Linked DNA regions of Homo sapiens: regions 1, 2 and 4 are each linked to region 3. Evidence: promoter capture Hi-C in 16 types of primary human blood cells and fetal thymus (Javierre and others, 2016). All regions are on one chromosome and are shown on one strand. The core of a region is centred on a gene start or on the middle of the fragment in contact, and the rest is flanking DNA. Distances in the headings are between cores, read along the strand shown. Region 1 overlaps MYO5A (myosin VA). Region 2 overlaps MYO5A (myosin VA). Region 3 holds the start of ATOSA (atos homolog A). Region 4 overlaps MYO5A (myosin VA).

Region 1 (7,246 bases), core at 2,701-5,200, 270 kb after region 3:
TTAATTTTTTTGAAATTTGCTTATTAAACATTTAATATATGCATTATGTAAACACTTGGTTTTCTAACTACATCTTTTTTTTTTTTGCTTTGCCTTAAAAAAATTTATAGAAGCGAGTTACCTAAATCAGAAAGACATATGTCATTAAAATTTTTAAGGTTATATAAAACATTTAGCAGCAAGTTATATTCTCTGTATTCTGTAGCAGATATTTTGTAAGCTAGATTTAACTATCAAAATCCAAAGCCAAATTTTACTTTTTCTGGTTCTGAAAATGGCCTTTAAATTGAGTGGGTAATACTAATACTCTACTAATAAATAGTCTAACTGGACCTTTGTTGCCACAGGATAAGGTGATAGAAACATCAGGCTAAAGAGACCCTGAACACCAGAGCAGCATTTCCAGGAAATATTCATTGGTCTTAACCATCTTATTTATGTAAAGCAGGTGAAGTTTTTTGGAAAAAAATAAAAACCTGAAGCTTACCTAACAAAGCCTATGCCTTGGCAGCTCCCATCCTCGTTTGTTCTCTTTCTTTGCTGGCATGAATGTTCAGATAACCCAAAAGGTTTTATGAAAATATTCTAACCTCTGAGTTCAGGTCTGCTGTTTCTGAAAATCATTTTTGTGAGAATAACAAGACAAATAAAAACAATTAGTATATATCTGTGTGACTGTGCAGTGAGCAAAGCATACACCTGTGCCTGCAGTGGCAAAAGTGGTTCTGTTCTTAAAAGAATCAGTTTTGGCCAGGTGTGGTGGCTCACGCCTGTAATCCCAGCACTTTGGGAGGCAGAGGTGGGTGGATCACAAGGTCAGGAGCTCGAGACTAGCCTGGCCAACATGGTGAAACCCCGTCTCTGCTAAAAATACAAAAATTAGCTGGGCGTGGTGGCATGTGCCTGTAATCCCAGAGGCTGAGGCAGGAGAATCACTTGAACCTGGGAGGCGGAGGTTGCAGGGAGCCGAGATTGTGCCACTGCACTCCAGCCTAGTGACAGAGCAAGACTCTGTCTCAAAAAAAAAAAAAAAAATCAATTTTAAGGACCTGTGTTCTACTCCATCTTTTCTCTCTCTGAGCAGATTCTGTAAATGTCATGTTATGAATTACACTTCTAAAATCTTATTTTCTCCCTTGCTTTTTAGTCCATTGGAAATGCTAAAACAACCAGGAATGATAATAGCAGCCGTTTTGGGAAGTATATTGAGATTGGTTTTGATAAGAGATATCGAATCATTGGTGCCAATATGAGAACTTATCTTTTAGAGAAATCCAGAGTGGTATTCCAGGTAAGCTGGCCATATACACATATGCACTTGTGTTAGATTGCTGTATAATTGTTGAGTCCATGCTTGCTGGTATGCATTTTATTTCAAGATACTCTTGAGCATATTATGACAATATTACCTCCAACCACACTTGGACTGAAGCCTGTAAAATGGTGCCTGTTAGAGGCAAGGGAGTACCACTTAAATGCTAATAGTTTTTGGGACTGGTCACTTTTAGGTTTGACTTTTTCCTACAGGTGCTTGCGGGAAAGCTTAGTTGAGAACAGGTGCTATTGGTTTAGTCTTGTCTCTCATATTTCCAAATGATAGGGAAGGCATTGTTCCATGCTCTCAATAAGTTAGTTTGAACTCAGTGCAAGAAAAAAAATTATCTTGTCCTCTTTCCTTCCTTCTTCTCCTCTTTCAGAATATATTATTGTTTAGATAGAATAGTGAGGGTTAAAAAAAAATCTTCACAACCCAATTGTGAACTACTATCAAAAAAACAGTTGATGCATCTGGGTAGGGTTTACATCCACATATATGCTCTTGGTCCCTTTTGATTGGTAAGTGGGAGATATGGGAGATACTATATATTTCCATCACTAGCAGGCATACATTTATATATTTATAGGTATGGGTTTATCACACACTGTCAGTTCTGTAGACCTACTGCTTGCCTCATGCTGTGAGATTTGGGTTTCATTAGCCTCAACTGCATGCCCACTGCATTGAGGTTCAAATACCCTTGACACTGCCATGTAACAGTGTCCACAATTTCCATAGCCCAGGTCTGTCATAGGTTTGAAAGTGTCTGAGAATTTGAGCAGTCTGAAGTTGCTCTGGCTTTGACTTTGGGGCTGTGCCTGATTTGTGGCCACCTAAAATATAGTACTTGATTTGCATAGTAAGGCAATACAAATGAAGTATTATATTTAATATCTAGGTACATACAGAACAGTGTTACTATGCTGATGGCTATTTCTATAGGTTTTTTTTGAAAAGTGTCTACTTTGATAACCAGAAGAAAGAATGGGTGAAACAGAGGTAGATCTAAGGGAAGATTCAAATATTAGAGTTCAAATAGTAGAGGTTTGATTGATAGGTAAGTGAGTAAGCAGGGGGGAAAGATGGTCCTTGGTCAGTACGTGACCAAAGGCTAGTAGTGCTTAATACAAAATGGTAAAGCCCAATCCTTATTGTCTTGTTTAGAGACACTGAACCATTTCTAGCAGTTTCCCAGTCTCCAGTGATATAGAATGTCAAGGATGTTTGGCTTGTCAAAATGAGTCACACAATCAGAAAAGGCATACTTGTATTGTCCTTTATGTACAAAGAGGACCTAAGCATTTCTGCAGACTCACAGGCTTTTCTAGTTTCTGTGTGCTGAACCACCTGGTCTCCTGTTTAATCATGCTTGTGGTCATTGGTATACTGGTAATTTGTTCAGTGGCTTCTGTCCCTATAATAGGTTTTCTTTTCCAGACATCAGCCCCCTGTGGGCATCAAACCTGACCTTGGCCTTATTAATACGATTCATTAGCCAACTGAGTATACTGTAAAAATGAAGGATATAGTGATAAACTATTAGGTGTATGAACAATATTATTGCAACTGTATTTTTTAGATATATGTGTGGAAAAGACTCTCAGGAAATACTGAAAAATTATCTTAGAATTTATATGTGATTTATTTTCTATTTTATAAAACAGTTATTGATTTAAAATGTATAAACTAAAATGATATAGAAGATGTACATTTGTGACTTTCCTACAAATAACCACAGTAGATGGTCCAGTCTACAATATGGCAAGAATGGGATTATTCTTTTTTCAAAGCATTTGGAAGACTGTGAATCTAAGAGGTACCATTAGAAAATAGTATTGAGTATTGCAAAAAAAAAATGATTTTAGTTTCCCCCAAAAGCACTGATTATCTTATGATTGTTGACATATATCAAGCTGTTCACTAGTTCAGAAAGCATTACTATCCGATACTTTATGTTGAATTTGAGCAACACACACATACTCATACATATGCATATAGACTATAAATCATAAGATTTAATAATCAGAAATAAGTATTAGGAAATATAGGAAAGTATAATTTATTTAACCAACTGAGATAATTAAATATTAAAATCTTATTTTATGATAGAATTCCCTGAATTTTAGATTAAAATGCTGTAATTGAAAACTCTTCTTATTTCGAAGGCAGAAGAGGAGAGAAACTATCATATCTTCTATCAGCTTTGTGCCTCAGCAAAGTTACCTGAATTTAAAATGCTACGATTAGGTATGAATATGGCATTAAATTTATTGTTCTGGTATTGTTTTCTGTTAATTTCCAAGTTCCTAAATTTACTTGTTAAAAAGGAGCTTATCTCATGTTGGAATACTTATGGATAATATGATAAAAAGTCAGCCCTTGGCTTCAAAATAACCCATAGGGGTAGAGGAGGAGTAAGTGGCTGTATAAATGGAACAGGATTGGCCTGGAGGTGATTTTAGATGGCTGTTTAAGATGAGTAATGAGTACCTAGGGGCTCATTCTATTAGTCTCTCTACTTTTGTATGTGTTTGATATTTGCTTTGATTAAAGGAAAAAAAAAATTAAAGGAGTTGATTTGTTAGAAGCCAGTAGGGTTTCTTATGAGGGGAGTAAAGGATTTGAGGAAATTATTCTAGTGTGTAGATTGGAATAAAACCTTTAGGAAAGGACTATTTATTTTACCAATTAACATAAATAAACTATAAATATTTTACCCCATTTATTTAATTAAATTTTATTTAATTTTTAATTTTTTATTAAAATACAATTGAAAACACAGGCAGTCAAACTCTAGATGCTGTACACTCAACTGTGCTATCACCACCTCTGATTCAGAGTGGACATAAGGTTAGAAGGCAAGGCTTTTTCATAAACCAGAAAATTTTTATTTTTCTTCATTACAGGAAATGCAGATAACTTTAATTACACAAAACAAGGAGGCAGTCCTGTGATTGAAGGAGTGGATGATGCAAAGGAGATGGCACATACTAGGCAGGCCTGCACTTTGCTAGGTAATGTCACTTTATTCTTGAGCTCTTAAGAGGAATAGCTTTTTTACTCAAGCAACCTTTGTTTAGAATATTGGCTTGACTTTTTATTAAGTGGCAAGTATTGCTAGAAGATTTAATATTCCACATAGAACACATTTAGACAGCAAATGGGCAGGAGATTTCTTTTTGGGATGATGGAACTGTTCTAGAATTAGATTGTGGTAATGGTTGTGCAACTTTGTAAATTTACTAAAAATCATTGAATGGGTGAATTTTATGGTATGCAAATTAGCCTTCAATAAAACTGTTCAAAATATATATTTGGGGCATCAGGGGAGGGCTACTTGTAATTCTTTGCTTAAATTTTTACAAAATCTGAAACCTGAAGCTAAGTGAAACGGGCTCCTCTACAAGCTCGCATTTTGTAGGAGCTATTGGTTTATTTGTTTGGTTTTGGGGATCTTTCTGTGGCTGGGAAATGTGGCTGAGTTGGCATCATGACAGAATATTCCATTACATGTAGTTTATTCCAGCATTTTTTTTCTGTTCCAACATTTCTGAAGCAGCTCAGATGTCACTATCTTGTTTCTGGGATTTAAAAAATGTTGGGCCTTCATGTGAATAAATTAATCTTTAGAACTTGTCATCTACAACTTAAAGAAAAAAAAAACCTCAGAATATAGATAACTCTAAAATCATATGATGGCATTTTGAGTAGTACCCTCAGGTGAGTTAACTTAATTTAAAAGCACTGCTAATTACAGTGTGGACCAGGACCATTGTGGGCCTTGCTAGAAATGCAGAATCTCAAATCCCTTCTCAGACCTACTGAAACATAATCTGCATTTTATCAAAATCTATTGGTGATTCATATGCATATTAAAAGTTTGAAAATCACTGCATTTCTTCTCGTGCTAAATCTGTTTGTAAATAGTAAATTTGTGAATTTGAAAAAGCCATACAAAGTTTGCAGTGAGCTGAGATCACACCACTGCACTCCAGCCTGGGTGACAGAGTGAGACTGTGTGTCAAAAAAACAAAAAAGAAAAAGCCATAATGCAGGAGATGGTAAAAAACATTAATTATAGGGTCATTACTGAATTACCCTTTCTAAGATTACATATTTGGAAATAATTTCACTGCTTCTATTTGCATGTAATTATAGCTAATTTTCTGGAGATTCTTATGTTATTTAAAAATGAAGCCAGATCTGATAAAAGCTGAAAGCTGTCCAGCTTTCTCATCCTGCCTTATCCTTCAAGTTCTGCTCTGATGCTGTATTTGGACGCATACTCATCAGGCTGGGATATAGCACCAGCCTAAACGCTTCTAATCTTGGCGTCTCTTTGACTTATACTTGGTCTGTAGTTTAAAGAAGTAATTAAATAATTACTTTTTAAACAGCCTTAAGAAGTAACAGCTTTATTGGGCTGTATCTGGAGCAGAGATAAATAGAAATGGTAATACTATTAATTTTAAACCCAGTGTGTGACAATGATGACAACAATTTGTTTAGCACTTACTGTGTGTCATGTCGTGTATTAAGTATGCTATGTGCATTTAATCTCATTTAATCTTCACATACTTTGAAGTAGTCACTATTATTTTCATATCTCAAATGAGAAAATGGAAGCATAGAATACTGAAGCTACCTGTCCATTTGAGATGATAGGTCCATAGCAGAGCCAGGTCTCAAGCCAGATCAGCCACAGTCAGCAGCCATGTTATCCATCCATGATGCTAAACTGCCTAATGTGTTAATGTCAACAAAGATGAAAGTGTTGTTAGCTATGACACATTATAATATGCACAACATCTGGCAATATTCAGGAATTAACAATAGGCTTAAAATTGTCTGCTGTAATTGTTTAGTTTCTATTCTGAAATTAATCACTTGTTCATTCACTCTCTTGTTTCAGGAATTAGTGAATCTCATCAAATGGGAATTTTCCGAATACTTGCTGGCATCCTTCACTTAGGCAATGTTGGATTTACATCCCGAGATGCAGACAGCTGCACAATACCTGTAAGTTCAGAATAAGCTTTAGTGGGATGGCAGTTGAATTATGTTTTAGATTTGTAGATTGTTTAAAGAAGCAATATAGTTTAAGTCTCTCTATCAATATTATCAGAAACATAATTATCAAAGACATATGTTATCCAAAGGAGAATCTCAAACTGAGAATAAAGAAATATGGATTCTAATCTCTGGTGCATAGTGATTGTGTGTGTGTGTGTGTGTGTGTGTGTGTGTGTGTGTGACAGAGAGAGAGAGAAAGAGAGAGGGTTGGATAGATGAGATTAGTGACTATAACGCAGATGTGGCCCCACAAGATCAGAAACTCATGGAAGTTAAAGCTATTAGGGATCATATCATGCCCTTACTGAAATGTTTCAGGACTCCCCACTGCCTTCAGAAGCAGACCCAACACCTTACTTGGCATGATATGACATGAAAGGGCCTTCATGACTGACCCCTGACTTCCTATTGAGCTTCTTTCTCATTGTTTCTCACACTCTACATCCAGCCATTTCCATGCCAGGCTGTTTCTCTCTCCTGGCTTTGCTCAGATTCTCCCTGCTGGGGTACATACATTGCTCTTCTTCCCTAGCCAGCTCTTACTCACGTCTCACAGGCAGATCTCTAGCATCTCTTCTTAGATACACACTCACCCTTCTGCTTTCCTTTATTGTAGCTCAAATCACATTGTTCTATAAAGGTCTCTCCTGCTTGCCTTTACCCACTAGGATTTGAAGTCCTTGTGGATAGAGCCATGCTATTCATTGTGGTATTCTTAATTAAGGCCTTAATTTAAATGGTGTTTATTCAACTCACTTAGTTGCCTTTTTTCTCTGGATCTATAGCCTCTTGTGTAAAAACAGATTCTCTACTCCTGTAAGAAAAGAATCTATTTCTTGTGTTTTCTGGATATAG
Region 2 (6,593 bases), core at 2,753-5,252, 320 kb after region 3:
TTATTAATAAATTATTTCATTTTTTGGTCATTTTTTCTTTTCCTAAATTTTACTAAGACACTCTTCATGGATCACAGTGATACTAAAAGTAAAATTGCCTACAGAGAAACTGGAAATCAGTATACATGTTTACACAATTGCATTCTCAAGGGGCCATCTTTAGTATGCATATCCTTTTTTTAATTTCAGAAACTATGGAGAAGAAGTTAGTAGAAGAAACGAAACAACTGGAACTCGACCTTAATGATGAAAGGCTGAGATATCAGAACCTTCTGAATGAGTTCAGTCGCCTGGAAGAAAGATATGATGACCTCAAGGAAGAGATGACCCTTATGGTGGTGAGTCAAACACTTTTGTTTTTTTTTTAATGAAAAATTTTAAACATATACAAAAGTAAATAGAATAGTAGAATGAACCTCCATATCTTCTGTGTACCTACCACCCAGTTCCAGAATGTTCAACACATATTCACCTCCCATTCCATCTCCCCAACCCACTCCATCCAATGGATTGGATTATTTTAAAGCAAATCTTAGAAATCATATAATTTTATTCACAAGTACTTCGGTAAAGTCAAACAGTTTAAAGACTGGGCTATGTGATAGTATAAAGTCAGTAAAGTTGGATTTTTGTTTTTGTTTTTGTTTTTTTTTTTGAGATGGAGTCTCCCTGTGTCACCAGGCTGGAGTGTAGTGGCACAATCTCGGCTCACTGCAACCTCCGCCTCCCAGGTTCAAGTGATTCTCCTGCCTCAGCCTCCCGAGTAGCTGGGACTACAGGTGCCCACCACCATGCCCAGCTAATTTTTTGTATTTTTAGTAGAAATGGGGTTTCACCATGTTGGCCAGGATGGTCTCGATCTCTTGACCTCATGATCTACCCACCTTGGCCTCCCAAAGTGCTGGGATTACAGGCATGAGCCATTGCGCCCGGCCAGTTGGACTTTGTTTTATATATTGAATGGCCTAATGTAAAATTTACATGTAGACTGGTTTTGATTATAATTTTGAAGATATATTCCTATGAAAAGAAAATTCAGACTCCATTTGTAATGAATTATCTATTTCAAGGACTCTTCTGCATTTGCCAATGTACCTTTCATACTTGTAATAATTCTGCACATCCTCCCCATTCCATGTATCCTGCTATCAGGAAACAAAGAGTTCCCAAGCATCCCTACAAGTACCAGCCTTAAAGGTAACCTAATTATACAAATGACCAGAAATGCCCTGAAATATCTCATAAAAAGCCAGATAATTCAGTATCTGTGGAGCAGAGTATTTTCTTCAAATTTTGCTTCTATCTGGACCTACTGACAAAGTTCATTACAATATGACACTTAAAAGTCAAAATAAAAGAGATTGTGTAATACAAAAGATAGGCTCTCATCACCTTGCAGATGAGAAAATCCTGTCTAAAAGAGACCAAAAAGCTAATATAAATCCCACATTGGACCATTATTTCAACCCTCACTACTCTGATTTATGTGTGACAAAGAGAAATTAGAAGTAGATGCAAGTCACCATTATAACTGTTCTTATAATTGACAAATCTAAAGACCCTTGTTAAGCTTCATCTTCCTAGATCACCGTGCTACCGTTGGTCCCATTGAAACCTTTCTTCCTTCACATTCTGTAATTCTTAGCTTTCTCTTGAATCCTTTTCTTCTTTTTCAGTGTTCATGTTCCCCAGTTCCATTCTTTGGTGTGTTTTTGTTCACTCTATTTATTAGATGACAATGCCAACATTTATGGTTAATCTCTGTTTCAGTTATGGTTAGAGCTAAGCTTTATAACCCAGTAGGTGTTTCTGAGACCCCCTAGTTATTTGGGATGTTAATAAGTGGGATTGGAAAAGAAATTCTTAGGTAAAATAAATGTGGTAATCTACTAGGTTAAACAGAGATAAACAAATGTCTTTTCTGGAGAATTTCTTGGATTCTTTAATGGTGCATGCAATATGAATTTCAGAAAATAAAATGAGAGAAGCAGGTGCCATACATGTATCCCTCTCTGAGCATATTCCAGAGATATCCATCTGTGAGGAGGTCATGGGTCTCTTTAGTCGAGGAGGTGGCCATTTCTAGAAAGGTCCTCCAGTGACGCCTCCTCCAGCAGCTTGACACGGCTCCTCCTTCCTGCTAAGCAAGTCTGCCTGCTCTCCATCTGTTCCCAGCAGTGCTCTAGAGGTAGTTTTAGTTGCTCAATTTCTTATTTCTCAGTCATGTGTCCTCTCCATTGTATGCCTGTGACTCAGTCATTCCTCTTGGGAGACAAAATGGTCAGAGGAAGGGAAAAGGAGAAAGCAGAGGAAGGGAGATCAGAGCTCACTTGCTTCCCACTCATTTCTTCACTAGATCTCCTTTTCCTAGCTCCAGATATAATCAAGATGACAGTTTTTGCAGAAAATATTTGCCCAGAATTGCAGAGAATAAAAAACTTGATCTTTTAACCCATGACAATTAAAATATTAGTGACAATATCTTATTTTAATGTTTAGGTACAACTAAACAGCTAACAGATGAGTACTTGACTAATATTAGACTGACGCTGTTCTGTAAATGACACTCTCACTGCTTCAATCCAGAGCTAATGAAGCATTTGGTTGTAAACAGAGTCGTCATATGAATGGAGGAAACTCTAGGGAGGGGACTTGATACACTGCCTCCAGCGCTTCCCATAACCTATGTGATACATGGGCCAAAGAACACTAATAGTGTCACTCATTGCCAGCCTCTAGAGTTGTTGGCCCTAGTACAAGAAGTACTGTAGCATTTTTCTCCAAGAACATTCGGTTGTCCAGGGAATATAGGGGCAGAGGCAAAGAGGAAGGACCAATCCAGGGCTAAGGAGTTTCAAGCCAATGATGAAAAGATCATGAGGCATGGGCATCCAGGTTTATGAAGTGTTTAAAGATAAATTAATTCCAGAGAGGGGAGGGAAACCAGCATGTCAATCATGGGGTCGTTAGTCTTGACAAAGGGATAAAACATGTTCTGGAAAAGAAGGAATCATGGGAGAAATCAGGAGCAGAAGAGGAGGGAGGTGCAGATCTTGAAGGAGAACGTGATGATCCAGTCAAATATATATCCTTGTAATTGAAAAACGTATAAACGGGGGAACAAAATCCTAAAAACAGAGAACTGAAAAGTTACCAACAAGGAAGTTGCTGAATCACTGCAATCTCCTAACAATCACAGCAGCAGAAGTTAACATTCATTGAATGCTTGTTATGCCAAGCCAAACTCTTTACTTCCACACTCTTATTTAATCCTCACACAGACCCTATGAGATAGAAATTAGTACCCTTTTTTTCCTGATGATGAAAATACCAGCTAGTGGAAGAGCTGGTATTCCTGCCTAACTCTCTCTCGTTTCAGATCCAGAGCACTTAATCACTGCCCTGTATCCAAAAGTTACATTAAATAGCAAAAAGCAATGTTGCTTCTATTAATGCCTTAAGGTATTCCTTGTATAATGATAGACATATGTGGGAAGACAGGGATCTCTCTCATTTTTAATAAGCTTATTAAAAATCTTTGTCCTGGTGTTTATCTGGACTACCTGGTTTTCTTAGTGATACAACCAGTTTATTAAATAAATGCCATTCCTACAACTGTGGGCTTGGGCTGGAAACTTTAAGCAAGAGTGCCTGTGTCTGTAAACAGACAGTGAATTTGAGTGCCTTTGACTTCATGTGTGATGATTGTCCCCTTTAGTGTGCACCCCAGCTTCTGGATCGTTTCAGAGGTGCTGGTGTTCTTGGATCTTCCCTTCACATTGCAGTACAGGTTGGGTTGGCCTGGGAGACTTTTACGTGCCTCTGGATGAGTCTGCTCTCCATAAGCCTGGGTGTTGGAAGGGAAGAGACAAAGAAGCTCTTTGTGGCTTCTAGCTCTTTTCCAGCAGCTGGGGAAAGGTACAAAGAAAACTGGACAGATGAGAAAGCTCTCAGAGGCCTTTGTGAAGCCCTCAGGACTGTAACACTGCAAGATTAAGCCACTGGATCTTTTCCACCTCTCCTGCTGGGGACATGCTAAGAGCCCAGCCTTTTAATTCCTTCTTCCCTCAAGTTATTCTCTAACCCCTTCTCCTACAGGAGGGAAGGGTGTGTCGTTGCTAAACTTTTCTATTCCTCTTGAACTTTCTCAACACTAATTTCCTAGGTATTACATGTCATAAAAATGCCACCTGGATGCCCTGAGGTAATAACCGAGGGCTCTTCAGAGGATTACTAGAGCAGCTTTCTTACCTCCCGTGTACTGTCCATCCTGCCCACTGCTCACTCCAAAGATTTAACTTCACGTATTAAAGTGACAGAAGTTAGAGCTGCCTGTGTGAACTCCTTCATCTTTCTTTTAAACCATTTATGCCTAGTTACCATGCAGTAAAATGATTGTGCATGCCATTTCAATATATTTTATGAGGTTTTTGTAAGTTTTATTTGATTATGGCACTAAAAGTCAGTGCTTGGAAGCTTCACCCAGTGCTTCACTGAGCACTGCTTCACCCAGTGTGACTGACCGCTCAAAGCTTTCAACACCCAAAGGGGACTCGACTAATAATCAGAAGTGGTTTTCATTTGGGCATTTGGTTTTGCAACTGTTCTTGTCCTGTCATGCCAGTGTACCTTTTTCTTTGAAGCGGTGACCTTTTTGTAATTATTTGGTCAAAACAATATGGAACAAATCACTTGGGCACCAATACAAGTCAGGAAGTAGGGATAAGAACCAAGTCAAGGTGGATGCTGTCTTAACTATGCCTAGACTAATTATGTTGCATTAATTATACCTGGGTTATTTGCCTTGCAGCATGTGCCTAAGCCTGGACACAAGAGAACAGACTCCACCCACAGCAGCAACGAGTCTGAATATATCTTTAGCTCTGAAATTGCAGAAATGGAAGACATTCCATCAAGGACAGAGGTACAGTTTAGACATCTGTCACTGAAAGTAGGATATGAGCATGCTGTTGTTAACAAGGAACATTTCCATTGCAAAGCAGACTCCAATTGGCCATAAACATAGTATTTGTTTGAATCATTTATTCTTCATAAGTGACTTGTAGATACAAACTTATTTACATTTTTGTATACTTAAGTGCTGTGTACATACATACCTATTGCATTTTTTTGTCAATACAAATTTTAATTTTAATTTTTAATGCAATTTTGATGGTGAGATTTTATTTTTATAATTCTCTTTACCCCTAACATGATATGTTTACAGGAATTTATTTCAGACTGAGGTAAATTATTTTATTTTTACTTATTATTTATTTACTTTATATCTGTGGACCACCGCTGTAGACAGAGGTAAATTATTTTTAAAGTAAGCCCTTTGTCCTTGAATATTATAAACACCAGTGCCCCAGAGTTTAGCAAAACTGATGCCTCTATTTTATGCCAGTTTTTACCAATGTAACTTTCTTCTACAAAATGCATGGAAAATAGTTTAGAAATCTGCTTTAATGTTTTGTGTTTTGTGGTATGAAACCAAAATGATGTATTACTGTAACTCCAAGAGTATAGTGACTTTTAGTTAGATTATTCCCAACCAATTCTAAGATCTTTTAAAATATGATATAGTTTCAATAATGGGTAATTCAGGCACAACTGTCCTATTTTTATATTATATTTTTTGAAAATGGCCAAATCAGAAATAGACTGCTTCTGGTAGAATAGCTAGAGAAATTGAGTGATTCTTTCCTTTCTTGTCTTAGTTCTACTTAAGAATGAAGTTTCTGCCATCTCATTCTGTTAATTTTGAAGAAAAATGTTACATAGTTGGAATGTCATATCATTGGAATCATACATACAAGAAGGCTAAGTAATTTGTCCAGGTTCACAGCTTATAAATGGTAGATCCAGCATACTAACTGAGGCTTGTCTCTTTAGAATTCATGTTCTTAAGCCATTATATTCTACTGACTTCCATCCAGGGATTCTGTACTGCAACTCTCCAATCCCTTTTCTATCTATAGCTAACATTGGCTGGGGCCCATGGATATAACAGTATGGCCAGGATATAGCAGGATAGAGGTTTTTCCAGTTATCTATTGCTATGTAATAAATGATCTCAAGTTTTAGTGTTTTTTTTTTAAAAAACAGTAATTTATTATTACTCATAATTCTGTGGGATTTGACTGGGGAGTTCTTCTGTTCCATGTGGTGGTGGTCGGAGTGCCTCATGTAGCTGCATTCTGTAGAGTGCTTGCTTCTCTTCCCTGGGCCTCTCCATGTAGCCTCTGTTCAGCAGCAGGTAGGTGGGTTCTAAGAGTGACAGACTAAAAGATGCCAGGCCTCTTAGAGCTAGGCCCAGAACTGGCCCAGTGTTAGTTCTGCTGCATTCTGATCAAAGAAAATCACAAGGTCAGCCCAGATTCAAGGCAAAGGGGATAGATTCCATCTCTTGTTGGGAGGAAATACTTGTATGTTGAGAAGAATCATTGGTGCCATCTTTGGAGAATACCACAAAGTTAGACTTTGAAGATTTAAAAATTAGGACTTCTGAGCCTTCAGTAGATAGGAAGGTTTTAGGATTACATCCTGTTGATCTCAGTGGGAGTACTCACTTGCAATAGTCGGAGGGAAGT
Region 3 (6,949 bases), core at 1,198-3,697:
ACAGATTGATCATACACCACCCATTTCAACAAAATCTGTAAAAGTTGAGGGGATGAAGATGAGTTGCTGAAGATGAGTTAACTTTTTTTTGAAGTTAATTACTCATATACGGCTTTGAAACCCTAGGGGAAAGCAAAATGGAAAGCAAATCAGATGAAAAGAGGGTAAGGTTCCTGCCAGCTATCTTGATTCCCTTGCTTACCCTTACCCTTCACCAACTAGGAACTAGAAACATTTGTTCTGTTTATGTGCTCTGAGGTGTGAACAGAGCACCTTAGAGTGAATTGCCATTTCAAGTCATTATTTCCAAACGCTCTGAACATGTGTTACATAATCATAGGATAAAAGAAAGCGATAACTATTGTCAGAGTCTAAACACCTCACTTTTATAGGTGAAACAAAGGTGTTAGAATGTGACTTGATTAGGGCCATGTAACTGTAATAGTACTATAAGCTCCTTGAAAGTAGTGACCCTATCTGGTTTTGGTGACCTTTACATTCTCAGAGACTTGTATGAGCCTAGCAGGTAGTATTCAGTAAATGCATATTATGGAATGAAACAATTTGAATAATGAGTCAGAAATACACCTTTTAAATACTTTTTCTGCTGCCATAATGATTTCAAATTTTTGAACAGGTTTAAGATTCTAAATTTAAAAAAACTTCAGGTTAGTCTAACAAATGTTGACATCATCATTTACCCAAGTGCTGTTAAAAATTATTTAAAAGAGAATAGTTTGTGCTACACACTAATAGTCTTGGCTTCTGCTCTCAACATTTCCTGGTCTTTTTACCTCTTTTGCATTAGATAGAGGAAGAAAGAAGCTAAACCAGATTTTGCTGCCTGTTCACCCAGTAAGCCTTTTACAATAGCTGTTATTTGGTCCCAGCTGTTGTGCTAAATTTAGGTTTTTGGCTTATCTGTAACTGTTCTGTCTCCCATTACCAAGTGCTTGTAGAACAAGTAAAACTTCAGTTCATTTTTTAAAAACTACATAATACAGTATTCAATAATATCAAAGTCAAATCCACTGGGATTTAACATTTGTAGCATTTTATAGATTAAAGAACTGTTTCCATTTGTCAGTTTCATCGTCATGATGCCAGAACATTTCAGAGAAAATGAAATGTTACCCTCCTGAATGTTCTCTCCGCTCTGATTAGATACAATCGTGGAGTTAAGGTTAACAATTTCAGTTGTACATGTTATTTTACTGTACATATCTAAGCACTAGAAAATGTTACTTTTTAAATATTTCATGCCTTTTTCATAAGAACTTTACCTGAGGCCAAAAAAATGGAACTGCCAATCTTGCAGTTTATAAAACTCTTCTGATGTGAAAATAATAGACTCATTGTAAAAAAAATTTTAAAACAGAAGGGCACAAATAAAAAAAATCCCCTTAGACTTGTCCTAATACTTTCCTGTGATCCTTTTATGCAAAATTATATCTAAAAAAAAAACTTTTTCTAATGAAACCAAAGAGCCTTGCAAATTTTTACTTGTCTCCATTTGGGCTCATGCCCCATATGTACTTTGTCTATAGACTGAGTAGCTAATAGCTGCAGCGCTTGTTAGGATTGGGTTTTTTTTTAAGTACAGCAGATTCCTGTCATCTGTTTGTGTTTAAATGACGACAACATCACAACATGAAATGCCATCATGTCACATTGCTATAGCACAACAACAAAATTACAGCTCCCCAACAATAACATGCTGTCAAAGTGTCCTCCTGCCCATGAGTCAGTGTTTTAGAAGTTATGAAGATTATTTTTAGCACAGCGAGTGTCTTGGAAGCTTGGGTTCTGAATCCTACTAAAATCCTTAGTGATTTGGGAAAATCTAGGGTGGGGGTGGGCTTCCTGTTCTTAAATTCTCCCACTCCCTGACCCGCATAGCTGCCCACCCCCCGTCCCGGTCACATTAAACCCGGGTTCCATTATGCGCTGCAATCCACTTGGGGCTCGATCACAACTCTGTGCCAGCATCCCGGGAGGAGGAGGAGGAGGAGGAGGAGGGGGGGAAGGAGGGGGAGGGGGGAGGAGGAGGAGGAGGAGGAGGAGGAGGAGGAGGAGGAGACGACGACTATAATTATCCTCCACGTCTGGGGCAGGCCTTTGGATGACATCTCCCCAGTTACCCTGCGCTCTAATAGCGCAGCTCCGATTCCTGGTCTCAGAATCCAGGCGCGCCTCTGCCGGCTGGGAGCGCAACCGAAGTGCCTGGGACGTCTCGGGCTTCCGGGACTCTGCTGGTGTCTCCCAGCCGCCATCTCCAGCGCCCTCGCACCCGCCGGGCACCTGCACCGAAAACCCGGCCCCAAACTAGCGCCCCGGGGCGAGCGGCGGCATTGCCATAGTAACCGGGCGCCAGGGCCGCGGAGGCCGCCGGGGAGGAAGTGACGACCGGGGTGGGTTGGCTGTTGTTGGGACACGTGACCTAGGCAGTGTTTTGACAGGGCAAACAGCAGAGAAAGAACTGGCCGAGCGAGGGGGACGGGGAGCCGGGGCGCCAGAGCTAGAGACAGCGGGCGGGCAAGGAGCTGGCAGAGGCGCTGGGCAAGAGGGCCGGCCGGGGCTACGGGCGGGGGAAGCCCGGGGGTCGCGGGGCTCGGGTGCCAGTCAGGCAGGGCGGAGGGGCTGAGCGCAGGGAGCGGAGCGAGGCGGTGGCTGAGGCGCGGGTGGATGGCCACAGGGGCGCCGGGGAGCCGCTTCGGGCTGGTCGTCTCGGGTCCCCACGGTCACCTGAGGCAGCCGCGGGGGCCGCTGCGCTCCATACTCCGCTCCCGCTGGCCCTGCGCCTCTCGGAGCCTGGGGTCTGAGGTGGGAGTGTGATGTGAGCTGCTGGGCGAGCGGTGGAGAGAAGTGCCAAGAGGAGGCGGGATTGGGACGGGAGAGGAGAGCGAGTTAGTCAGCAGAGGTCGGCCGAGGGAGCGGAGGAGCCGGCCAGCTCGAGAGCGCCATGAAAACAACTCTCCAGCGGGGAGAGGGGCAGACGCGGCGCTCGGTGCGGCGGGGCTGAAGGAAATCCGGGGCCGCGGCGGGACGGAAGGGGTTGTGCAGAGCAGGGGGCGAGCACAGGCTGTAAACACCTCCCCCGGAGCCGGCCGCGGAGGACTGGTTGGGAGTTGGTAGGGTCGCCCCGGGACAGCCCGGAAGAGTTCGTTTGGGGCTGGGGGCTGGGCGGGAGGAGGTGACTCGGGTTTCTGTGTAAACTTGGCCGCGGTTGCCGCAGGAAGGCTAGCCAGAGGGTAATTACACAGGTGAGGCCCGGCGGGGCGGGCGGAGGGCTCGGGAGGCGCAGGGGACTGGAAGAGTTGGCTGCGCCCAGGCACCAGGTGGAAGAATTTCCATACCAGCCCTGCGGAGGTGCCTCTGTTTCCAGAGGCGTTTTTGTACGAAGGGGTTAGTTTGTGTTGCTCAAATCTTTTTCTTCTTCTTGCCTGTACCTCCAGGTTATAAATAGATCCTGTTTTGGTTCAGAGACTGTGTCAGAAGGACACATTGGCCTGGAGAGCACAGAGGCAGGGAAGGGGGTGCTCGATCCGGAGGAGATGGGGGAGGCGGTGCAGAGAGTTTTGCTTTTTTCAGACCAGCCGAGGGTGCTGTCACCGCAGTTGGTGCCAGGAAGAGGCCTAACTTAACAGTAGTTTACTTGCAAGGTCCGGGTATTAGAATAGGGCCAGATTAATTTTATTTTTGTCTCTTTCAGCATTTTGAAAGCGAAGCAGAAGCCGTAGAATCAGCGGCGAGCCTGTTGAAAGAACCCACAGGTGCATTTCACAGCACTCTGGGCGAAAATTGGATGTGAAAATGAAGCCAGACCGAGGTAAATGATTTGTTTAAGTAGGGCTTGTTCCCCCACCCCCTTCTTTTCTATGCCTCAATTTAGAAGTGTTAACCTAATTCTGCAGTAGGATCAACTATTTCTGTATCATATGTGATTATCTGTTTTTGTGACAGATTCCAGCTGGTGAGGTAGAGAAAGGCATATGGAAGAGAAGGTTAAGCGTTTTTACAAAAGTGCTTCTGAAGCACTAGCTTCAAGAGAGATTCTAGTGTATCTCAAAATGAAAGTAAAGAATGGTATTTGTATCTGTTGCCACAATACAGGTATCATTTTAGAGTTGTACTTGCTCGTTTTTAGGTAGTCAATCTAACTTCAACTTTCAAGAAGTTCATAAGCTTTTTAAACTTGAATGTGAACTTGATAAAATGAAGAGAAAACTTAAGCTTGAGTTGACAACTGTTATTTTATTACTACTTTGATTAGTTGATTTTTGTGCTTTAAGCAAACTCCAAAAGTTTGCAGAGTACTCCAGTATTCAATATACCAGCATATGGACAGTTTGGGCCACTGAAATCCCTGGTGATAAGTAAATGTCACTTCTTTTCTAAACCTGTATTTTCAGGATTTATAAGAATAATATATACACTGCTTTTCAAGGACTTCAAGGTAATTCTTTATCAGTCTTCTGATTAATGGCAAGAACCAATTTTAGAAGATGTTAATATAGTAGTGGTTAGTAGTGAGAGCTTTTCAGTCAGATATGAGTTTGATTCCAAGGAACATTGTGAAGTGGGGATTATTTTATTTGGTAGGGGGCTGGACTAGATGACAGATTTCCTTCCAAATCCAAGTCTTTAGGATTGGAAATGTTAATTTATCCTACGAATTAGATGCTTATTTTAAAATTTATATATATTAAACTGGTTGTTTTTCCATATATTTTTTCAAAGTGATTAGACAAATTTTCTGGGTAAAATAGGTCTATTGAAATGCACCAGAAGGAATTGGAGAAAACCATACTTAATTTAGTGATTTAAATTAGTTTTAGGTGTTGGCTATTACATACAATCAGGCAGCAGCTATGTATGTATCAAGTATTAGTAAGTGTATTGCTCCTGAGCAGGTTCCTTGTGTAGAATGCCAAGTTTAGATTTTTAGATTACATCAATCACTTTGGAAAAATGGCACCAAGGTTAGTAATTGATTCTCAGAATAAACAAGCAAATAAAATCAAAGTCACTATTTATTTTGAATTGTTGTGAAAAGTTGCTTTACAGTCATAAGCAGTTTTAAAAATAGTATTTGCAGCCAAAACTAGTGTTAAACACAATAAAATGTTTAGTTACGTACTGATATAGATTTTTAGGGGAAACAAATTTATTCATCAAGATTTCCAAAGAAGTTTTCACCTTAAAAATTGTAGCTTTCTTTAGCATTCTCAGGTAAAGATGATGGGATTGTGAGTTTAGTATTGTGATTATATTCCATAATAATAACATAAACCTTTAGACCCATGGCTTTTTTTTTCTTTTACTAAAACCAGTGTAAGTAATCTTTTACTTAGCAAACTAGTACAGAAATATTGAAATAAGCTTTTCACAAACGTACTTACCCTTACTGTGCGCAATGTAATGTTGTATTTTCTATTCTATTTCACGTTTTGAAAAATTGCTGTCACCACCCATTGAATTGATTTCTTCACCAATTAATGGGTCATGATGACCTGCAATTTGAAAGGCAGAGTTATGGACAACTCTTAACGAGAAAACAGTTACACTTCATTTTTTTTTTTAAACTACATTGGTGTCCAAAGAACTATCCTATATAAATGAATTTTCTGGATAATTGAAACTTTTTAAACGTCAAAATATTTTTAGTTGTAATCATGATATGTGGAGACATTTAAAAAATGTTCACGCTTCTGGTTTGAGATTTTTTTGTCTCTAGTTTAAACCATCTCAGCCTATCTTTTTTTATTCTGATTTTTATGTTCCCTGGCTGTCAACAGTTTTTGTTGTTAATATATTTATCCTTGTCACCTTTTAATTTTCCTGCTTTTAGTCTCTGAGCTAGATAATTAGATAACCGTACTTAACACTAAGTTTTCTCTCTTTTTTTTTCTTTTTCTTTTTTTTTTTTGAGACGGAGTCTCGCTCTGTCGCCCAGGCTGGAGTGCAGTGGCGCAATCTCCGCTCACTGCAAGCTCCGCCTCCCGGGTTCACGCCATTCTCCTGCCTCAGCCTTCGGTAGCTGGGATTACAGGCGCCCGCCTCCACGCCCGGCTAATTTTTTGTATTTTTAGTAGAGACAGGGTTTCACCGTGTAAGCCAGGATAGTCTCGATCTCCTGAGCTCGTGATCCGCCCGCCTCGGCCTCCCAGTGTGCTGGGATTACAGGCGTGAGCCACCGCGCCCGGCCTAACACTAAGTTTTCTATAAGATGAACATAAATAGGAGAACTTCTCAGATGCTCATTCAGAGTGTGAGTAAAGTGTGGATTTTAATGTAGAGACTCAGATTATAGTTTTGTGAAAGACAGCTGTGCTTCAAAGAGTTAAAGTTTCTAAATAAATACAATAGCCTCTTATCGTACATGATTGGGTGTGGTAGTTGGTTGGCTAACTGTAAAAGTTTAAGGTGGGGGTCAGGAAAAATGCCTTAATTCTTTTTCTATTGGCTGTTTTTATGGAAGGTGTGGGGAGCATTGGTCAATTCTGCTCCCTACAGCCTCCATAAAAACAAACTGATAGCCAATAGAAAAAAATTATCTGAAGGTCAGGAGTTTCTACTGTACTTTGAAATAAGATGTTATGGTATAGCATGATAGATTTCACAATAGTCGATAGTATTTTACTGTACGATAGTATTTTACTGTACTGTAAAAAAAATTAATTTTAAGCAATAATATAACATTACTTGGGTAACACTGCCAAAGATGAGTCTTAGATGTTGTCATTAGCAGACCTGTGTTTTTATACTTGTTCCATTACTTGCTTGCTCTCTAATCTTCATCACATAATCTCTGAGAGTCTCAGTTTCCTTGTCTGTAAAATGGGAATAATTCCAACTTCTCACAGTTAGAATGAAATATGACCGTGCTTGGCACATAGCAGATATTAAATAAATAATATCGTTTATTATGTTAAATAAACATTACAAA
Region 4 (6,789 bases), core at 1,870-4,369, 340 kb after region 3:
AAATGTGTTATTTCCCTCTCAGAATACAATGACAGATTCCACAATACTTTTGGAAGATGTACAAAAAATGAAAGATAAAGGTGAAATAGCACAAGCATACATTGGTTTGAAAGAAACAAATAGGTAAGTTGATCCTTCTTTTATTCATTTTGGTTTAATTATATTGATCTTTAGCCTTCAAGCCAGCCTCTTGTACAGTAAAAGTGTTCATACATTCCTTTATATTAGACATTAACTGGCCTTCAAAGGGAATCCAAGGTTTCCAGTGTATTTCTAGTTAAGATCTTCATTATAATATAAGGTAATAGTATTGACAAAAGGTGTCAGGGAAAATGTGCTTTAAATCAAAGCAAGATTTTAAAAATATTTAATGTCTTAGCTTTAAGGGGCTGCCTTGAGAAGAAAACTACCTGCTCAGGTCATACAATCTTAGGTAGTCACTTTCATTTGTTATTCAGGATGGTTATTTGTGAAGGTTTGTAGGGGCAACTGCAGTTTTCAATATTTGAAACTTAAGAGTGAAAAGAAGTGATGAGGTATCTGGAATCACTCAGTGTTGGCCATGTAACTCTAAAAGGGCACCATGACTTCTAGGATAGAAGAATGAAGGCTCATATCTGGAATTCCCCTTGGCCTTACTACCACCCTCCTTCCCAGCAAAGTCTATTGGTCTGGGGCTCTTGATGGATAGTTTCAGGATTGGTAAACATACATACTTTATAAACTGAAGAATATTGCCATACAAAAAGAAAGGTGCAGTCAGCCCTCAATATCCATTGGATCCCTATCTGTGGAGTCAACCAATGGAGGATGGAAAATATTTTTTAAATTACATTTGTACTGAACATGTACAGACTTTTTTCTTATTTCTTTTCTTTATCTTTCTTTTTTTTTTTTTTGAAATGGAGTTTCCCTCTTTCGCCTAGGCTGGAGTGAAGTGGAGCAATCTCAGCTCACTGCAACCTCCGCCCCCCAGGTTCAAGCGATTCTCCTGCCTCAGCCTCTCGAGTAGCTGGGATTATAGGTGCCCACCACCACACCCGACTAATTTTTGTATTTTTTTTAGTAGAGATGGGGTTTCACCATGTTGGCCAGGGTCGTCCCGAGCTCCAGGCCTCAGGTGATCCACCCGCTTCGGCCTCCCAACGTGCTAGGATTACAGGCATGAGCCACTGCGCCCGGCCCTATCATTATTTCTTAAACAATACAGTGTAACAGTTATTTACAGAGTATTATAAGTAGTCTAGAGATTACATATTACAAGTTTTTAGGTATTATAAGTAATCTAGAGATGATTTAAAGTGTACGGAGGATGTACATGGTTATATGCAAATAGTATGCAAATTTTATATAAGGGATTCGAACGTCTGTGGATCTTGCTATCCAAGGGAGGACCTGGAACCCAATGGATATTGAAGGATGACTGTGCTTCTTATCTTCTTTTATGGACAAGGGTGGAGAATGCTTATAAAAGTATTTGGTTATACTTAAATTTTAATTTATCAGTTTAAATTATAAACATATGTTATATCTAAGAATGTGTTAATATAGAAAGAACTGTATTGTATCACAATGTTCTTCCATCCACTTAGCTATTCTATCACCAGTGTGCCTACTTCATGCCAGGCCTTGTGCCACATACTGGGAATACAGTAATAAGCAAGATAAATGCGGTTCCTACTCTCACTGAGATTATAGGCTGCTGGGGAGACAGCTGAGAGGGTTTGGACTTTATTCCAAAGATAATGGAATCCTCTGAAAGGTGTTAAGTAGGAGAATGGTGTGATGAGATTTGATTTTTGGAAAGCTAGCCCTGGCTGTTATGTTAGAGAATAGACTGCAGTAGAACAAAATTGGAAGCATAAAGGCCAGAGAGTATTCCTGTAACCCAGTGATTATGGTGACTTGGGCTTGGCTGGTGGCAGTTAGGATTGACAGAAATGGGACGTTTTGAAAGATACATAAGAAGACGAAGTCAGAAAGCTGTTTGGTTTATTGAATGTGTGGGCGAGGGATGGAGAAGCCTGAAGGTGACTCCGTGGTTTCTGCTATCTTGGTTAGGTGTGGTGATACCGTTTTGTGATCGTGGGACTGGAGTGTGGGGAAATGCACAGTGAAGATGATCAGTAGATTTATACATATGGATTTAAGGAGCCAGGAAAACATCCAGAGAAAGAAATCTATTAGGCAGTTGAGTATATAAATCTGTAGACAGGAGAGATGTGTGTACTGAGATAGAAATTTTGAAGTCATCAGAGTATAATAATACAATGGAAACCGTGTAAATAGGTGAATTCTCTAGAGAGATATGAACTCTCTAGATGTAAAGTAGAAGACAATGCCTGGAATTTGGGTTATGTAAACATAACAACAATATAGCAGGAGTAAGAACCTGGACTCCAGAGTCAGTGCTGGGATCCACTACTTACCAGCTGTGTAACCTCTATGGGTATCTTACTTCCAAGCCTCTGCGTCTTCCTCTGCAATGTGGCAAATGACTTGTTGGGTTACTGGGGAAACTGAATTAGTACATGTGGAAAGAATGTAGAACAGCATCTGACACTGAGCAAACACTCAAAAAATATTATTTTTATATTCTAAGTGGAAAATAAATGATTACTAACATTATCATTACTAATTATACGTTTTTAATAAGATGTGATACATCTCTAATATAGCAGTTTTTCCAGGCATACAATTAATTTTTGACACAAAAAAGCTTTTAAAAATCATGTCATAAAAGCTGAGAACCTTGGACATGTTCTGATTTATGTTACTGCTATAAGAATTTTTAAAACTGGTTTTTTAATGTGGGAAATTAGGTTTTATTAAGCTAAAAACGTTCCTACCTAGAGGACTTAAAAATTCATCTTGAAAAATATTATGAAGTTTGCCACACAAAGACAGTAGCTGAAGTTTTTGTTCTATATGTGTCATAACCTCTAATACAATATGTGATGTATTAGATCACTTTGCTAGCTGAATAAAACATCAAAAACAGAACCTCTTTCTCACCTTCCAGTCATTTCTTATTTTGCAGGTAAAGTAGCTCTACATCCTTGATTATTTTGCTTTAATTTCTATCCATTTACATGTGATGCTACATGTTACTCATTTTTAAAAATTAACCAAAAATAATTTTTGTGGTAATGTCTTAAAGTTGTCATAATGAATAAAAACAAACTTATAAAATGTTGAAATACTGCATGCTGCTGTTGACCATCGTCACCTCATCAGCATCCTGTATCCTTTTGTGTTTTGCATTGTTGTTCCTTTTGCATGGAAGATCATCTGCTCTGGATTACCATGAGTTGAATGAGGATGGAGAGCTGTGGCTGGTTTATGAAGGGTTAAAACAAGCCAACAGGTTATATTTGTCTCCTCAAAATGGAATGTTATTAATTTGTTGTTTTTCTTACTAACAGTGACCTCCTGACTTTCACCCCTGTATTTCTTGTGCATTGATTGTCTTCTTGGGTAAATTAGTGTTAGTAATTGTGTTATTTGTTCAAAGCTTTTCAGTAAAACTGAGAACATTCAGCCAAACACCTTTTTTTTTTTTCTTTTTTAGACGGAGTCTCACTCTGTTGCCTAGGCTGGAGTGCAGTGGTGCGATCTCAGCTCACTGCAACCTCTGCCTCCTGGGTTCAAGCAATTGTCCTGCCTCAGCCTCCTGAGTAGCTGGGATTACAGGCGTGCACCAACATGCCTGACTAATTTTCTGTATTTTTAGTAGAGACGGGGTTTCACCATGTTGGCCAGGCTGGTCTCGAACTCCTGACCTCAGGTGATGCGCCCACCTGAGCCTCTCAAAGTATTGGGATTACAGGCGTCAGCCACCACACCCGGTCCAAACACCTTCTTTAAAAACCTTCACTACAAGATACTATTAAAGCTAAAATTGAATGGTGGTGAATATAAGACACTTCCCTTCAGACACTAAAATTTGTGAATCTCTCTCTCCCAGGAGTTAAAAGAAAAACATAATCTTTCAATTAGGGCACAAACTATTGGGGGAGAGATTAAGATTTATTACTGAGACAGTGGCTTCTCATATCCTATAGATAGATCTACAGGATATATGTGTCTATGGCAATGTGGCTACATTTTTCTTTTCTTTTTTTTGACACAGGGTCTTGCTCTGTCACCCAGGCTTGAGTGCAGTAGCATGATCACGGCTTAATTCAGCCTTGACCTCCTGGGCTCAAACGATCCTCCTGCCTCAGCCTCCTGAGTAACTGGGACTGTCACAAGCATGTGCCACCACACTCAGCTAATTTTTTTATTTTTTGTAGAGACAGGGTTTCACTTGGTTGCCCAGGCTGGTGTCAAACTCCTGGGCTCAAACAATCCTGCCTCGGCCTCCCAAAGTGTTGGGATTACAGATTTGAGGTACTGCGCCCAGCCTACCTTCTTATATATTATTATCATGCTGTCTAAAAGCAAGATGAAATGCATGATTTGGCACTCTGTGTGGTTATTATGAAATTCACATTTGTGAAACAGCAAATCAGGAGAGTTTTCTGCATTGCTATAGCTCAGAATAATTACCCAAATTCAACCCGTTAAATATGTTCAGAGGAGAGAAAATAAAATTGAAACAGCAGCACCTTTCTAACACAGACATTCATCTGCTCTAGTGATATTTGTCTTTAAAATCTCATTAAAATTCTATTTTAGTGATTAAATTTTTAAAACACTCAAATGTTTGTTCAAGGGGCTTCTGCTTATTCTGCTTTGTTCTCATCATTAACGCTTGTCATTAACTTTGGGGTGTTATTGCTGCAGATCTTTTTGAAATGTTTTAATCACTAAATATTTTTAGTCCACTGTTAACAGTTTGCTTGCAATGGCATCATTAAGTTTTACCCAGCAGTTGGCAACCAAGGGACTGGAATAAAAGAATGTCTTTTCTTTCTTCACATTAGTTAGTTCTTAACCATAACTTTGCATTTGGAAGAGAGTGACTGTAGAAGCAGGGGTGCGTGGCAAAGGGAGGATGCTCTGACTCTGGTGTTCTCACTGCCAATGCCTGGTCTGCTCTGTGGGCACAGCTGGCTGTATGTTTGCTTGGAAAAGCAATAACCACTTTTTTGGTCCTATTAATATTTGTGTTCTAAAACCACATCTTGTTAGGATTCTGTTTCTGATATGTAAGTTTATGCGGAGAGAGAAGATGACAGATCTAAAATATATATAGGAAATTTCAGAACTATTTGTGTGGATTCGGGTAAATCTGTATATATAAGGCTGGAGTGGTGTTCCAGCCTTTCTGTCTTTCAGAATAGGAGTAGAATATAATTCCCTCTGCCTGGAATTAGTAACTGTAGTTCTGAAGGCACATTTAGTTAATTTGGAAGTTTATAATGTTGGCCTTTATAGTGCAGAGTTGTTTTGTGGCAAAGGTGTACTGTCTTTGCCAATTTAAATGCTAATTTATAAATGCAAATGCAAGGCAAATTAAAGCTGTTTTTTTCAATTGATTTTTTTTTTTACATCCTCATTTCCTATGACCCTCTTTTTTTTTTTTTGAGACGAAGTTTTGCTCTTGTTTGTTGCCCAGGCTGGAGTGCAATGGTGCAATCTCAGCTCACTGCAACCTTTGCCTCCTGGGTTCAACCAGTTCTCCTGCCTCAGCCTCCTGAGTAGCTGGGACAAAAGGCATGCCCCAACACGCCTGACTAATTTTTTGTATTTTTAGTAGAGATGGGGTTTCGCTATGTTGGCCAGGCTGGTCTTAAACTCCTCATCTCAGGTGATCCGCCTGCCTCAGCCTCCCAAAGTGCTGAGATTACAGGCGTGAGCCACCACACCCGGCCTCCTATGAACCTTTCAAGAGAACTAAAACTCTCCTGTTTCTTAGGGCCTCTGAGAACTTTATATAATGCAGAAAGACACAAATGTGAGAGCACCCGTTTCTATTTCTGCTTCTTGTTTTAGTTTCTTGACTTTAATCAAGTCAGAAGATAACACAGATACTAAAGAATATCTGCTTTTCCTACTCTTGCAAGTGAACACGATGCCTTACACCCGTTAGGCAGCAACTCGGGGTGTCGTCTCCCCTTCCGACCCATGTGTCCTCTCCGCAGGCTCCTGGAATCCCAGCTGCAGTCACAGAAGAGGAGCCATGAGAATGAGGCCGAGGCCCTCCGTGGGGAGATCCAGAGCCTGAAGGAGGAGAACAACCGACAGCAGCAGCTGCTGGCCCAGAACCTGCAGCTGCCCCCAGAGGCCCGCATTGAGGCCAGCCTGCAGCACGAGATCACCCGGCTGACCAACGAAAACTTGGTAAGGAGAGCTGCCGGGTCCACATGCTTCTTAACCTAGCCTGCCCGACAGTCTAGTTTCTTTTTGATCAAACACGGGTTTTTCTTGCTGGGAAAAACTCACCCCTCTGTACTTGTTACCCCTCTTACTCCAGCAGAGACAGAGTAAGGAAAATACAAATATTTTGGTAGGAAGGAAGAAGGCACAGGTTCTCTTTATCACGGAGGGCTGCGTGCTCTTAGACCTGCCCTGGAGGCAGACAACCACCTGGGTGCAGGCTGGGCTTTTGATGGCAGGTGATCTGCTTCCTCCATTTCAGCTGCAGATCCTCTGCCATCCTAGGTTTATTATGTGATTGTCACAACTGAGACTGGGGACAGGCTTCCTTTACCTTTGGTCCCCAAGCAGCCACTGAGGCCATCCCAGGCTCCACCTCTAGCAGACAAGTAGGGTTAGAGTTGAGGTTGAGAAAGGCGGTTGGCAAAACTAAGCCGGGGTTTTTGGTTGATGTTGGATGGAGCT

The links. Contacts are between HindIII fragments. The CHiCAGO score rates a contact against its expected background, and 5 or more counts as called.
Region 1: a contact is called between a fragment that was not itself captured here and the fragment with the promoter of ATOSA in region 3, in 2 of 17 cell types (neutrophils and activated CD4 T cells). The highest score is 6.4, in neutrophils.
Region 2: a contact is called between a fragment that was not itself captured here and the fragment with the promoter of ATOSA in region 3, in 3 of 17 cell types (M0 macrophages, M1 macrophages and M2 macrophages). The highest score is 7.6, in M0 macrophages.
Region 4: a fragment that was not itself captured here is called in contact with the fragment with the promoter of ATOSA in region 3 in 8 of 17 cell types (naive CD8 T cells, non-activated CD4 T cells, total CD8 T cells and 5 more); the score reaches 7.0 in naive CD8 T cells.

What each region holds. Positions count from the first base shown.
Region 1 is chr15:52,404,378-52,411,623 of GRCh38, reverse strand. MYO5A (myosin VA) reads left to right here. Exons shown (of 42, transcript NM_001382347.1): 6 at 1,148-1,291; 7 at 3,484-3,565; 8 at 4,225-4,332; 9 at 6,231-6,337. Among named protein-coding and RNA genes, the nearest start is that of MYO5C, 110 kb to the right of the region's middle. The HindIII fragment of the contact is 4,811 bases long and covers 1,545-6,355 here.
Region 2 is chr15:52,358,299-52,364,891 of GRCh38, reverse strand. It overlaps MYO5A (myosin VA), which reads left to right. Exons shown (of 42, transcript NM_001382347.1): 24 at 190-338; 25 at 4,811-4,924. Among named protein-coding and RNA genes, the nearest start is that of MYO5C, 66 kb to the right of the region's middle. The HindIII fragment of the contact is 952 bases long and covers 3,527-4,478 here.
Region 3 is chr15:52,674,886-52,681,834 of GRCh38, reverse strand. It overlaps ATOSA (atos homolog A), which reads left to right and starts at 2,447. Exons shown (of 13, transcript NM_001385016.1): 1 at 2,447-3,007; 2 at 3,713-3,829. The coding sequence starts at 3,814. LOC105370821 (a long non-coding RNA gene) reads right to left here and starts at 2,230. Exons shown (of 4, transcript XR_932255.4): 1 at 2,142-2,230. RefSeq lists a silencer at 2,512-2,831 and enhancers at 3,412-3,551, 3,682-3,751. The HindIII fragment of the contact is 2,387 bases long and covers 1,801-4,187 here.
Region 4 is chr15:52,339,695-52,346,483 of GRCh38, reverse strand. It overlaps MYO5A (myosin VA), which reads left to right. Exons shown (of 42, transcript NM_001382347.1): 30 at 23-123; 31 at 3,287-3,367; 32 at 6,090-6,288. Among named protein-coding and RNA genes, the nearest start is that of MYO5C, 47 kb to the right of the region's middle. The HindIII fragment of the contact is 795 bases long and covers 2,722-3,516 here.